2 separate regions of the Homo sapiens genome follow, and region 2 is linked to region 1. The links are contacts of gene promoters, found by promoter capture Hi-C in blood cells and fetal thymus (Javierre and others, 2016). All regions are on one chromosome and are shown on one strand. The core of a region is centred on a gene start or on the middle of the fragment in contact, and the rest is flanking DNA. Distances in the headings are between cores, read along the strand shown.

Region 1 (5,855 bases), core at 1,697-4,196:
AGCCTGAGTAACAGAGGGAGTCTCCATCTCTCCAAATAATAATAATAATAATAAATGATATAGGCGTGGTGGCATGTGCCTGTGATCCCAGCTACTCAGGAGGCTGAGGCAGGACAATCACCTGAGCCCAGGAAGTCAAGACAGCAGTAAGCCATGACTGGGTCACTGTACTCCAGCCTAGATGACAGAGCAAGACCTCCTCTCAATCAATCAATCAATCAATCAGAACAATATGCATTTGACATCTATGGCCCCTGCATTTTCACGAGAGGATTACTACCTTCTTTACAGATGGCTTTAGATTTGGAGGCTGGCTAAGCATAAAATTAAAAGACGTCATGCTTGGAATAGCCCTTTTAAGAAACACTTAACTCCTTTACTTAATAGACAAGTGCACTGAACCACTCATAATTTTTTAAATTATTTTTATTTTAATAATTATTTTATTTATTAAGACACAAGGTCTCAATCTATAGCCCAAGCTGGAGTGCAGTCGCACCATCCTAGCTCACTGCTGCCTCAAACTGCTTGGCTCAAGCTATCCTCCCTCTTCAGCCTCCCAAGTAGCTGGGACCGCAGGCACAAGCCATCGCAACCTGTGCTCTGAAGCTTTAAGAGGCCAAACGATTCCTCACATTCATCCGATCAGTTACAGGTAGAGCCAAGACCAGAAGCCAGGTATCCTATTTTCCTTATAACACATTGCCTCTATAGCTTTATATCCATTTCTATGATTTTTGTTACATACCCAGTTCTGACCATTTCCTGTCACAATTTCCTTTGTCTACTAAGTAAAGTTCTAAATGCATGGTGACATAACATACAAGGCCCTACATAACCTGGCACAAGAGACCTCTCCAGGTACTCTCCTCCTCTAACAGTGTAGGAATACTCCTGACTCCTAGGATGCCAGGCATTTGTATAACATCCTAATAGAGTTGTGCTGGTGAAGGAAGGCCACATCCCTCTATCTTGTGAGAGTGAAGACTTGAGTTTCTCCATCACCAAGGAAGACTTGGGTGAAGGCACTCAAGTGGGAGGGACAAAATGACATCTGAAAACTGGAGGCCTTGGGCAGGGACCTCCCCTTCCTCAAACTAAAGGTGAATGAACCAAATTTTGCGATTCCAGGTAGCTTTTCATGTCAAATTTTCATGTCAAATTCTTCCGTGCCATCTCTGACCCTTTAGTAAAATCCCCTCCAAATATTCCAGAAAAACCTTGTGAGTTCATATTTGGCAAGGCCATCCAAAGCATGTTAGCAACCCAGCATGATGGTGTCAGTACTAATTACATAATGAGAGGCCCCAAAGAGAAGAGTATTAGGCAACAGGAACGAGGGCCACTAAATCCCAATCGCTTTTCCCCAGCAATGATTCTCCTTCAATATGAGGTTATGGGTTATGAGGATATGAGTTAGTCAATTAGCTTCCTTATGCAACTTCAAATTCCCTGAACAGATCCAGGAATTTTGCACATTCTGTTCCTTGTCCATAAACTTTGGTTCCCCTCCCCAAACTGTTGTTCTTTCGACAAACTCTATACATAATTCATATTCCTGGCTCAGAAATCATAATCTCTAAGTAACCTTTCCTGACACCCTATTCTCCACCTCCTCTTCCATAACCTGTGGTCTTTTTGAACAGAGTGGTGACATTTTGGGCTGGATGACTGAAAAAGCAAAGTAGAAAAACAGAACATAGAACATACAGGGCCTCCAGTTGCTGTGCCTGGCGGTACATGAAACATAGTATTCAATAACTATTCTTTGAATGCACAGTCATTTTGTTTTTTCCTTTAACAGTATTTCCTAATAGGTAACTCATGAACACTGCAAAAAATGTCAAACTGCACAAAAAAATTCAGGGAAAAGTACATTTTCCCCCCAATCCCATTCCCTCCTTTCTCTTAATACCAGTTAGCTTTCCTTTCAGATTGATTATGCATATATGGGTATGTAAATGTTTTCCCACTATTTGTTACACATAAAAATTATATACAATTCATATATTACATATGGTGCATGTTATATACACACACATAAACAGATCATCTCGGTTTTGCTTAACCTAAGTCAGGCTTTTTTTTTTTTTTTTTTTTTAGAGCAGCCCTCAGAACCAGGACAGGTTCAGAGACTTTATTTATTTTTTATTTACTATTATTATTTTGAGACGGAGTCCCGCTCTGTCGCCCAGTCTGGAGTGCCGTGGTTCAATCTCGGCTCACTACAACCTCCACCTCCCAGGTTCAAGTGATTCTCCTGCCTTAGACTCCGAGTAGCTGGGATTACAGGCGAGCACCACCACGCCCGGCTAATGTATTTTTAGTAGAGACGCGGTTTCGCCATGTTGGCCAGGCTGGTCTCGAACTCCTGACCTCAGGTGAGAGCAACGTAGTACTCCACTGTGCGTGCATACCATGATTTACTTTGCAGTCCCAGATTTACGGTTTCCAATTTATAAATACTGCCATTTTCACCTTCAAGCCCCGATGCCAAACACAGAAATACCAGGCCACCCCCACCCCCTCGCCGTGTGCCTCCCACATTTTCACACACATTTTCAGGAGCCCAGGGCGCAGCCTCACACCGAACGCCGCCTCTGCCGTCCCCTCACTTGCCCCGTGCCCCCACCGCAGGGCTGAAGGCGACGGAACCGAGCCTTTGTACCCCCACCAGCCCCGTTCCCTGGCGTCTCCCGGCCGCCGGGCTCGCCCGCTCAAACGTGGCGGAACAACCGGAGCCGGGCCCCGCCCTGCTGGAAGACAGGGCGGACCGGGCAAGGCAGGCGCGGGGCGGGGCGGGGCGGGGCTCCGGCTGGCGGGGCGCGGCCAGCGTGCAGGGCTGGGCCAGCGTGCGGGGCTCCTCCCCTTTCCTCCGGCGGCGCCGGCGGCCGCAGAACTTCCGGGTCGGCGCGGAGGCGGGGCGGAGGCGCCGCGGCGGCTGTTATTGTTCGGCTGGGCTCGGTCGGGCGCTGTCTCCCTCGGCTCTGCGGGTGTCAGTTCGTCCGGCTTCCTCACAGCCCCTCACTCCCGGCGGCTGACAGCAGCAGCGGCGGCGGCGGGCGGCGCCTGGCGTTTCGAGGCTGAGCGGCACCGGGGTTGGGGCGCGGAGGAGGAGCAGCAGCGGGAGGAGGAGCCGTGTGCCCTGGCACTGAGCGGCCGCGGCCATGGCGTACGCCTATCTCTTCAAGTACATCATAATCGGCGACACAGGTGAGGGCCCCGGGCGCGGCCGGGCGGGTGTCGGCGGCCTCCGGACCCGGGCTGAGGGGCAAACGGCGTCTGGCGGTGGCGGGGACGCGGACTCCACCCGGCGCCTCCCTCCTGGCCGCGCCGCTCCATTTCCGCAGTGCTGGAGCTGGTGACGTGGGCACTGCGAGCGGCCGCGGCCTGGCCAGGCCCGGTCTGCGGCCCCCGACCCGGCCAGTCTTGCAGCTGAGGGCCGTGGCAGCCGTTTGCGACGCCCGATTCAGGAAGTGTGTGACAGGAGGGGAGGCCTAGCGCAGGGCCGCCGGGGCCCGACTCACATGACTGCACCCCACCCCCAGGGCCCCTTGCGTTAGGTCTCTTCGCGGCCCCAGGAAAAAGAAGGAGGGAAACCTAGGGGAGCAGAAGGTGTTGGGGCCCGGGTCTTGGTTCCTGACCAGTCCAACCTTCCTCCACCAGCACGCATCTATCAAGGCCTGGGCAAGGCGCTTTTTGGCGTGGGACAGGCAGCCGAGAAAGAGAAAAGGAAACCTTTAAAATATGTATTTTATATATATACATATATATAAAATATGCTTTTTTAACACCTTCAACTCTCACGTCAGAATAAGTCACATCTCATTACTTGACGGCTGGAGAATCCCTTTCGGGGTTAGGAAAGCATGAACGAGTTCTGTGGACTTTTGCCACGTGTGAACTGGGGTTATATAGTAATGTAAAGTCGTTCAGTGCTCTGGGTGTGTACTTAGGTATGTGTATGTTGAGGACGCTGATGTTTTAGATATGTCAAGTCCGGTGTCACAACTGCTAATTTTCAGGTGAGCTCATGTCCATGAGCTGAAAGAAATTCAGTTATTCTCACTTAAAATGACGTCCTAGTATATTTCACAGAAAAGTAAACAGACTCTTCGTAGATATTTTTAATACCTGTGATTTGGCATTACTTTGAATCTAATAATAAACATAAAGATTGTTTAGATGTTGCAACTATTAATATACCAGAGTCTGATTTCAGTGGTTACTCTTGCACAACTTTGGACCCTTTGCACAACTTCGGTCATGTAAGCAGCAGTTTGTAGTTGAACTAATGATGTGGCAGGTTCTATAAGTAACTAAAGAAGCATGTTGGCCGGACGCGGTGGCTCACACCTGTAATCCCAGCACTTTCGGAGGCCGAGGTGGGGGATCACCTGAGATCAGGAGTTCGAGACCTGCTTGGCCAACGTGGTGAAACCCCGTCTCTACTAAAAGTACAAAAGTTAGCCGGGCGTCGTGGCAGGCGCCTGTAATCCCAGCCACTTGGGAGGCTGAGGCGGGAGGATCACTTGAGCCCGGAAGGTGGAGTTTGCAAAAAAAAAAAAAAAAAAAAAAAAAAAGCATATTTATTGCTGCCTGAAAGAAAAAATTTCTGCTAGATACATGAGTTTTCAGCAAGGTTTTCTGATGCGTGCGTGCGTGTGTGTGTGTGTGGAAATTGGATTTGTAAACTTTAAAAGAAAAATGCTGTGGTGTATTTGGAAGAAGGAGAATTCTAAAGTCTTCTGGCAAAATTTCATTTAGGCTGTAAAAACAAGATTGGAGAGGAATGCCACATTAACTGTAATATGAGTGGGTTTGAGAAATAGAAGCTTGTGACTGTGGCATTTGGCTATCTCATTAGTGGTGAAAATTCAAATCAGACTTTGCTGGTTGCCTTTTTTCAGTTTTTTATTTGAGGCTGTACTGTGGATAAATAAAGTATTGTGCATGGAGTAGTGGGGCTACAAATCCTAACAAGTTAATGCTCTGTTCTCTTGGAATTTGCTCTTATCCAAAAGCAGTCCCCACGCAATTCAAAGGGAAGACACTTCTTTCTTGTCATTGCTGCTGATACGACCTAGTTCAGGAACAGAATTCTTGACACTGTTATAGTCTGCAGCAGTACTTCTCCCTACTCCAGTTCAGCCAGTGTAGTTTACTGTCAGTTTAGTCATCCTGAAGCATGAATGTCAAAAGGCTACTCCTGTTTGCTCACAATTTTTAGTTTGACCTTCAGTGAACTCTATATTTTAGCCCCTATCTACATTTCTCGCCTTCTTTCCCGCTATTCCCCACCTTGCTTCTGCCATTGAGTCCCAGTGACTGATTTTGGTGTTTTTTTCCTGGGCACTGCTAGTCTCTATTCTTAGAGTGCTTTCCGGCACAATCTCTCCCTGTGGAAGATCCATCAGTCCTTCAAAGTCTTATCTGAGTTTTCCGTAATGCCTTCACAGTCAACATATATTAAGCTCTTATTGTGTGAAGATTTTCACAGTATCCTGGCTGAAAGTGACTACTCCGTTTCTGAATTTATGTTTCTCACTTTGTGTCATTCTTCTGATATTGATCCCAGACTTTTCTGTTGTATAGATACTTGTATAGGCACCTCTATTATGTAGGTACCTATTATATACTTCTTGAAGTCAGAAAAGATGTTTTGTATGGCTCTGTATTTCTTTCAGGAAGAGCGTAGTAGAAGGTAGGCCCTGTATATTTAACTAATAAGAGAGGAGCCAAACAGGCTACTATATTCCTGTTTGTATATATTAATAACTTAACAGAAGTGGTGTCGTTGTTGTTGTTGTTGTTGCCCAGTTCTGCCACCTTCTTGCTTACTAATTTGGGCAAAA
Region 2 (5,855 bases), core at 1,848-4,347, 7.8 Mb before region 1:
CTATCGCCTCTCTCATACCAGTCCAGCTTCAGTAACTTCATTTTTCTTGGTATATGCCATGTATATCAGAGCCTTTCCATTTACTGTTTCTTCTGCCAAAAATTCCTTTCGAGAGTCACACACTTACACCCCTTACTTCTCTTGGGCCTTTATTCAAAAGGCAATCAGTGGCCGGGCTTTGGGAGTCCGAGGCAGGCAGATCACCTGAGGTCAGGAGTTCAAGACCAGCCTGGCCAACATGGTAAAACCCCGTCTCTACTCAAGAACAATTACTTAAACATTTTTATGTTCCTCATGTAACTAGTTCAAAAACCTCACAGTGGTAAAAAGATAATAAAAGAATCGTGAAAGTGTGTTGAAAGGGACTGCTAGATTTTCAAAGTGTCTTAGGCCAGTATTACTACAAAAGAAAAGTGTAACTGGAGTCAGAAAATATCATTACCTGAATGAGAAAATTTTATCAGCCATTCTTTTAAAAAGATATTCATAAGACATACACATCTGCAAAGTAAAGCATGTAGGTGCTCAAATATCTGCTGAATGTATGATATAAAATTTTAAGTTAATATTAGAGTCTAAAAACTTTTCTCAGGCTAACATAATCAAAATTTAGGTTCAAAATTTCGAAAACAAAAGTCTTGTGTCTTCTGCCTTTATGAACTTGATTTGCTAAAGTAAATCTGCCATGCATCCTGATCTTGTGTTTGGCAGCAAGAGCCAAAAAAAAAAAAAAAAAAAACTCAGGGACAAAAGTACCGCTTCATTGTCTTCCCTGTCGTCCAATAACAAACATATAAAGGATTAGGTACATAAATAATCATATCTTGATTACCATAAAAAGTTCAAAATAGACTAAATAAAATTACTTTAAAAATATGAACTATGTCAATATCCACTTTCCATCAACAGAGGTTTCTCAACGTAAGCATTATGTGCCTAAAGCATCCCTGACATAAAACTTTATCCAGGTTTTGAACACAATCACAAACATTAAAAGACATGACAGGAATGTTATTGAGAAAATATCTTCATTAGGGCCATATTCTGTTACAACAAATATAAAAAGCGAACATATTTTCACATTCCTAGCAATGGTCTGCTTATAAATCCAATAATCCAAAAACTAAAATCAGCCACCTCCCTCAGTAGTTCCTTGGTTTCTCACAGTTTTATCTGATCAGAAGTGGAAGGACCCTCTTTTTATCGTCTATCACAATGTAATAACATTCTTGATTAAACACACAATTAAGTCTACTTAAGTCTCTTCCTAAATTGCTAACTGTCCAAACTTATGTATAAATCATACAAGCTTCACCAAAACACAAAAACTTAAGAAACTACACAATAAAATAGTTAGCAAATAGGTACACTTTAAATGTTTGCAGCAGACTTGAGAACATTCCCATCTGGCTGAATGTCTCGTAGTAACGTGACTCTTTATCAACAGTGAGCACATGAGTCTTCCTTGGCAGCCAAGTCTACACTACTTCAAGGTATGACCACACTTTAAAGAGTCATGATGGAAACGACTAGATTACGAAACCATAAACAGTAAACACAGCACATCCACCAGGCGGTGGAAGAAACTATAGAGATATTCCATTCAGAAGCTGCTATTTCTACTGTTGGTTAATGTATTTTTGTTTCTACCAAGGAAGCTGTGAAATCCGCGTGCACACCCATCCCAAATCTATCCGTGGGGCGGGCGCAGGCTGAGTCATTCCTAGGAGTAACTTTATACCGATCCTCGCACTCTGGGGTCGGGACAAAGACATCATCTCTCCGTTCCTCCCATTCGGTGAGCTTCGTTCGGCCTCGGCCAAACTCCACTCTCCCGTTTCTCGAGTCCAACACAGAATTAAGGGCTGATCCCTGGCAGCGATGAGCACAAGTCAAGATGCGTCTTGGGAGGTTCGGACGTCCCTCGCCCTCGGCCACTCCGGCAACTAGGCCGGGTACTAAGCGGCAGCGCAGAGGGAGGGATCCCAAGGCTCCGGCCGAGGAAGCCGCAGGCAGCCCCGCAGCACGAGTCCGACCCACACCTCCGGCAGCCTAGTGGAGCATCGACTCGAACCGCTTTTGTCTCCACAGGGGCTGTCGCGCCGGGAAAGCGGCCAGTGGGCAACACCTGCCGGGGCGGGAGGCGCCGGGGCCCTCCCGTGCACACACCTGCGCGTGGGCCGGGCTCAGGCCGACCGGAACCCTGGACCATGCGACCCCGGCCCACCGTGCCAGGGCCCGCCGCGCGACCGCTGTGCCAGATGGGGGAAGGGGACGCGGGCGGCGGCGACACTTACCCGGCAACGCCTCCTCCTTCGCCGGCGGCAGCAGCAGAGCCAGCGACCCCCGGCACCATCTTCCGCCGCCGCCTAGTCCTCGGCAGCGGTTACCAACCGCCCATTCGGCACCGCTAAGCCGACACAACCGCCGGCGTCCCGGGCGCCCGCCCGCCGCGGCCCCGAACTCTAGGAGGCAGGGAGGGGTCCGGGCGGACAAGGACGCGAGCAGGCCCCTCGGCTCTGGGTCTGGGGCCGGGGGACAGAAGGCCGCGGCCTGTCAGAGCCGAGGGGCCCAGGCGACTGGGGGATTCTGAGGCAACGCCGAGGGCTCGGCAGGGCCGCGGACACCGCCGCGGCTTGGTTTGTTATTGTCGACTCCGTCTCTTCCTCCGCGGCGCATGCCGGGAAACGGCCTGCCGGGGGAGGGGCGCGCCTGGAGGCGCAGAGAGGCGTCTACGCAGGTCCGGAAGTCGGCAGCCTGCCGGGAAGGGGGCGGCCCCGCCTCCGGCTCTCCGGCCGGCAGGTTGGCTGTCCTGGCCTGACCCTGGGAGACTCCGCTGGGGCCGCCTGTTATGGTGCTAGCTGCCGTCCCGGTGCGTACTTTCCCAAGGTGAATTTGACCTTCTTTGCGACAGCTAGGCCCTGACTAAGGTCGACCCACCAAACACTGGATCGTCCCCAGGCGAAAGAGAGCTTGTTCCCCTCAGCCTGTCGCGGAGGAGCGGAGCCAATCGAGGGTCTGGTGTCCCCGTCGCCTCTCCAGGGGCAACCTGCGGACTAGGCCAAGGTCTGTAACAGGATAACGTACCAGCGCCTGGCCCAGGCGTTCCTGCCGCCACCTCCCCGCATATCCGGACCGCCGGGACTGCACGCAGCTGGCAAGCGTCCCCCTGTTAACTCTGCAAGGGTGGGGCGGCACCATTTCTCAGACCAGGTAAGGCAAGAAAACATGCAAGAGAGAAGAGAGGGAAGCCTAGGCCAATCGGAATGAAAATGTAAACGCCACAACCACGTTTTCAGCTTTACAAATACTGAATCTTGTAGTGGGTCTAGTGGGTTAGGGGTTAGCATGAGCACCCTAATGGTTGGGAGACAGTTTCAGGGGACTCTTGCATTTGTGAAGATGATCAGTCACAGGCAATGACTTGAAGCCACGAGGCTTGAATATTAAAATCTGATGAGCAGATGTTACACGTAGAATAATTACATAATAGTTCTCAAATTCCTGTTATATCCAGGAATATCTGGTATGAGTGAAAACTTGGAGGTGCCTTCTCTAAAGTCATCAGGAATTCTGAGTTGTGTTTGTAAAAATAGGAGGCACAAGAGGGCACCAAACTGAACAAAATGTTAGGTGGAAACTGAAAAACGTTGGTTAGCATGAACAATTTCAGTTTTCAGTCACACTGACCAGTATCTGTAAGTTAGGATTGAGATGGGCTTGTTTTATTTATTTACTTTTAAATTTGTGCTGCTACATATCCCAAACAAATGTGGTCTTTATCATCACTGGCAAGCCATTTTACTTATTGGTTAAGCTGGAATTTTATTACACCACCCCAGCAAGATAGAGGAGAAAAGCGAAAATTAAGTAGTAAATGGTTATTATGCCTTAAGGGAAGGTGTGAACTGGCAAGACAAAAGAGCCAAATTTAGTAGTAAAGCATAGTCATCAGCACACAGAAAATAAGTGGTGAGGAGGAGTTTGGCCAGAAAATTGGCTAAGAAAAATGGCAGTATGACCAAGAATGAAAAGAAAAAGAAAGAAAAGAAAAACTGCAGTATGAGGCCTGTAAAGAACGTATTGGTACTTGCACTTCCTCTTATTAGTGACATTCATTATTACAAATATAACCCAATTTAGAATGTAAAAATCTTGCTGGAGCTCGGTGCAGTGGCTCACACCTGGAATCCCAGCACTTATGGGAGGCCGAGGCAGGAGGATTGCTTGAGCCCAGGAGTTGGAGACCAGCCTGGGCAACGTAGTGAAACCCCTTCTCTACAAAAAATACAAAAATTAGCTGGGCGTGGTGATGCACACCTGTGGTCCCAGTTACTCAGAAGGCTGAGGTGGGAGAATCAGTTGAGCCCAGGAGGTCGAGGCTGCAGTGAACCATCATGGCACCACTGCACTCCTAGCCTGGACAACAGATTGTTGCCCTGTCTGAAAAATAAAAAAAAATTTCTGAACTATGCCAGTGATAATCTGGTAAATTATAAATGTTGTCTGACTTTTTTCTTTGGAAAATGAATTAATTCAGTCCTAACCTTCTCTCTTAATCACAGGTTGCAATAAATTACCAGAAACGACTGGTTCATACCTTATACACCTCCAGTGTAAATGTTAAGAGTTTGTATATTCTTAACAGACTCTTAACAAACATCAGTAATTCTTTCCTAGGGATAAGTGAAAATGTACTAACATTAATTCTATTATATATATGCAAATATCTAGAGGAAATACTGTTTATAAGTTACTAATACATGTATCCATGGTAGTAGGTCTTGAAAAGTTACTTTTGTTGCCTATTGGACACCCTCTATTCTCCCTTCCTTAATAAAACAAAAAAAAGAACAAACAAAATTCTGTAGCATCACTTCTCAACCAAGCTTTCTGATAGGAAGTCCTCAGTCCAATCTCATTTTTGGCCTACTGTGCATTTCTTACTTAACTTGCAAACAGATCATTAACAAGGACCTCCAAATTACAGTAAATTACAGTACTAAGATTTTACTTGAACTTTCTAAAGCATTCGCCATTTTAAATTATTTAACTTTTATACTCCTCCTTCCCTTTTGTGCTGTTTCCTTCCTGGCGCTCCTAAATATCTGTCCATTCTTTGGACCTCTTCCAAATTTTCAGATAATTATAATAGTGTGCGAATGATGCAAAGGTAATGTGCCGTGGGAGAGAACAGAAGAGAGAAACCTAATTCTGGCCTCATCACATTATTGTTTTTTTAAATTTAATAACTATTTTAGATGCTTCAGTAGATTTACAGTGAGGGCAAAAGAAAACAGTTTTCTTTAGGAGTATGGAGGGATTATATAGGATGTACAATAAATACCCTAAGTACTTCAAATCAGTTCAGATCTTTAAAATCCTATTTTTCCTTCAGTTCTCAACTTCAATATCACCTACTCTGGGAGTCATTCCCTACCATGCTTGTTTGTTTGTTTGTTTGTTTGTTTGTTTGTTTTGAGACAGAGTCTCACTCTGTTGCCCAAGCTGGAGTGCAGTGACACCATCTCTGCTCACCGCAGCCTCTACCTCCCAGGTTCAAACGATTCTCTTGTCTCAGCCTCCCTAGTAACTGGGATTACAGGCACTTGCCACCACTCCCGGCTACTTTTCATACTTTTATTAGATGGGGTTTCACCGTGTTGGCCAGGCTGGTCTCGAACTCCTGATCTCAAGTGATCCACCCGCTTCAGCCTCCCCCACAGTGCTGGGATTACAGGAGTGAGCCACAGCACCTGGCCACATGCTTGTAATTTCTTTAGATTCTCACATTGTATCTTTCAGTGTCATCTAACATGCTGACTATAAGCTCCTTTTTAAAAGATGTACTGTAC

What was found. Contacts are between HindIII fragments. The CHiCAGO score rates a contact against its expected background, and 5 or more counts as called.
Region 2: a contact is called between a fragment that was not itself captured here and the fragment with the promoter of RAB2A in region 1, in 1 of 17 cell types (non-activated CD4 T cells). The highest score is 5.9, in non-activated CD4 T cells.

The regions. Positions count from the first base shown.
Region 1 is chr8:60,514,041-60,519,895 of GRCh38, forward strand. It overlaps RAB2A (RAB2A, member RAS oncogene family), which reads left to right and starts at 2,947. Exons shown (of 8, transcript NM_002865.3): 1 at 2,947-3,213. The coding sequence starts at 3,168. It overlaps LOC124901949 (a long non-coding RNA gene), which reads left to right. Exons shown (of 3, transcript XR_007060922.1): 3 at 1-2,758. RefSeq lists enhancers at 2,095-2,955, 4,191-4,380 and a silencer at 2,531-3,400. The HindIII fragment of the contact is 4,226 bases long and covers 608-4,833 here.
Region 2 is chr8:52,711,778-52,717,632 of GRCh38, forward strand. RB1CC1 (RB1 inducible coiled-coil 1) reads right to left here and starts at 2,658. Exons shown (of 24, transcript NM_014781.5): 1 at 2,298-2,658. RefSeq lists silencers at 2,113-2,582, 2,613-2,782 and enhancers at 2,843-3,152, 3,173-3,222. The HindIII fragment of the contact is 3,580 bases long and covers 1,308-4,887 here.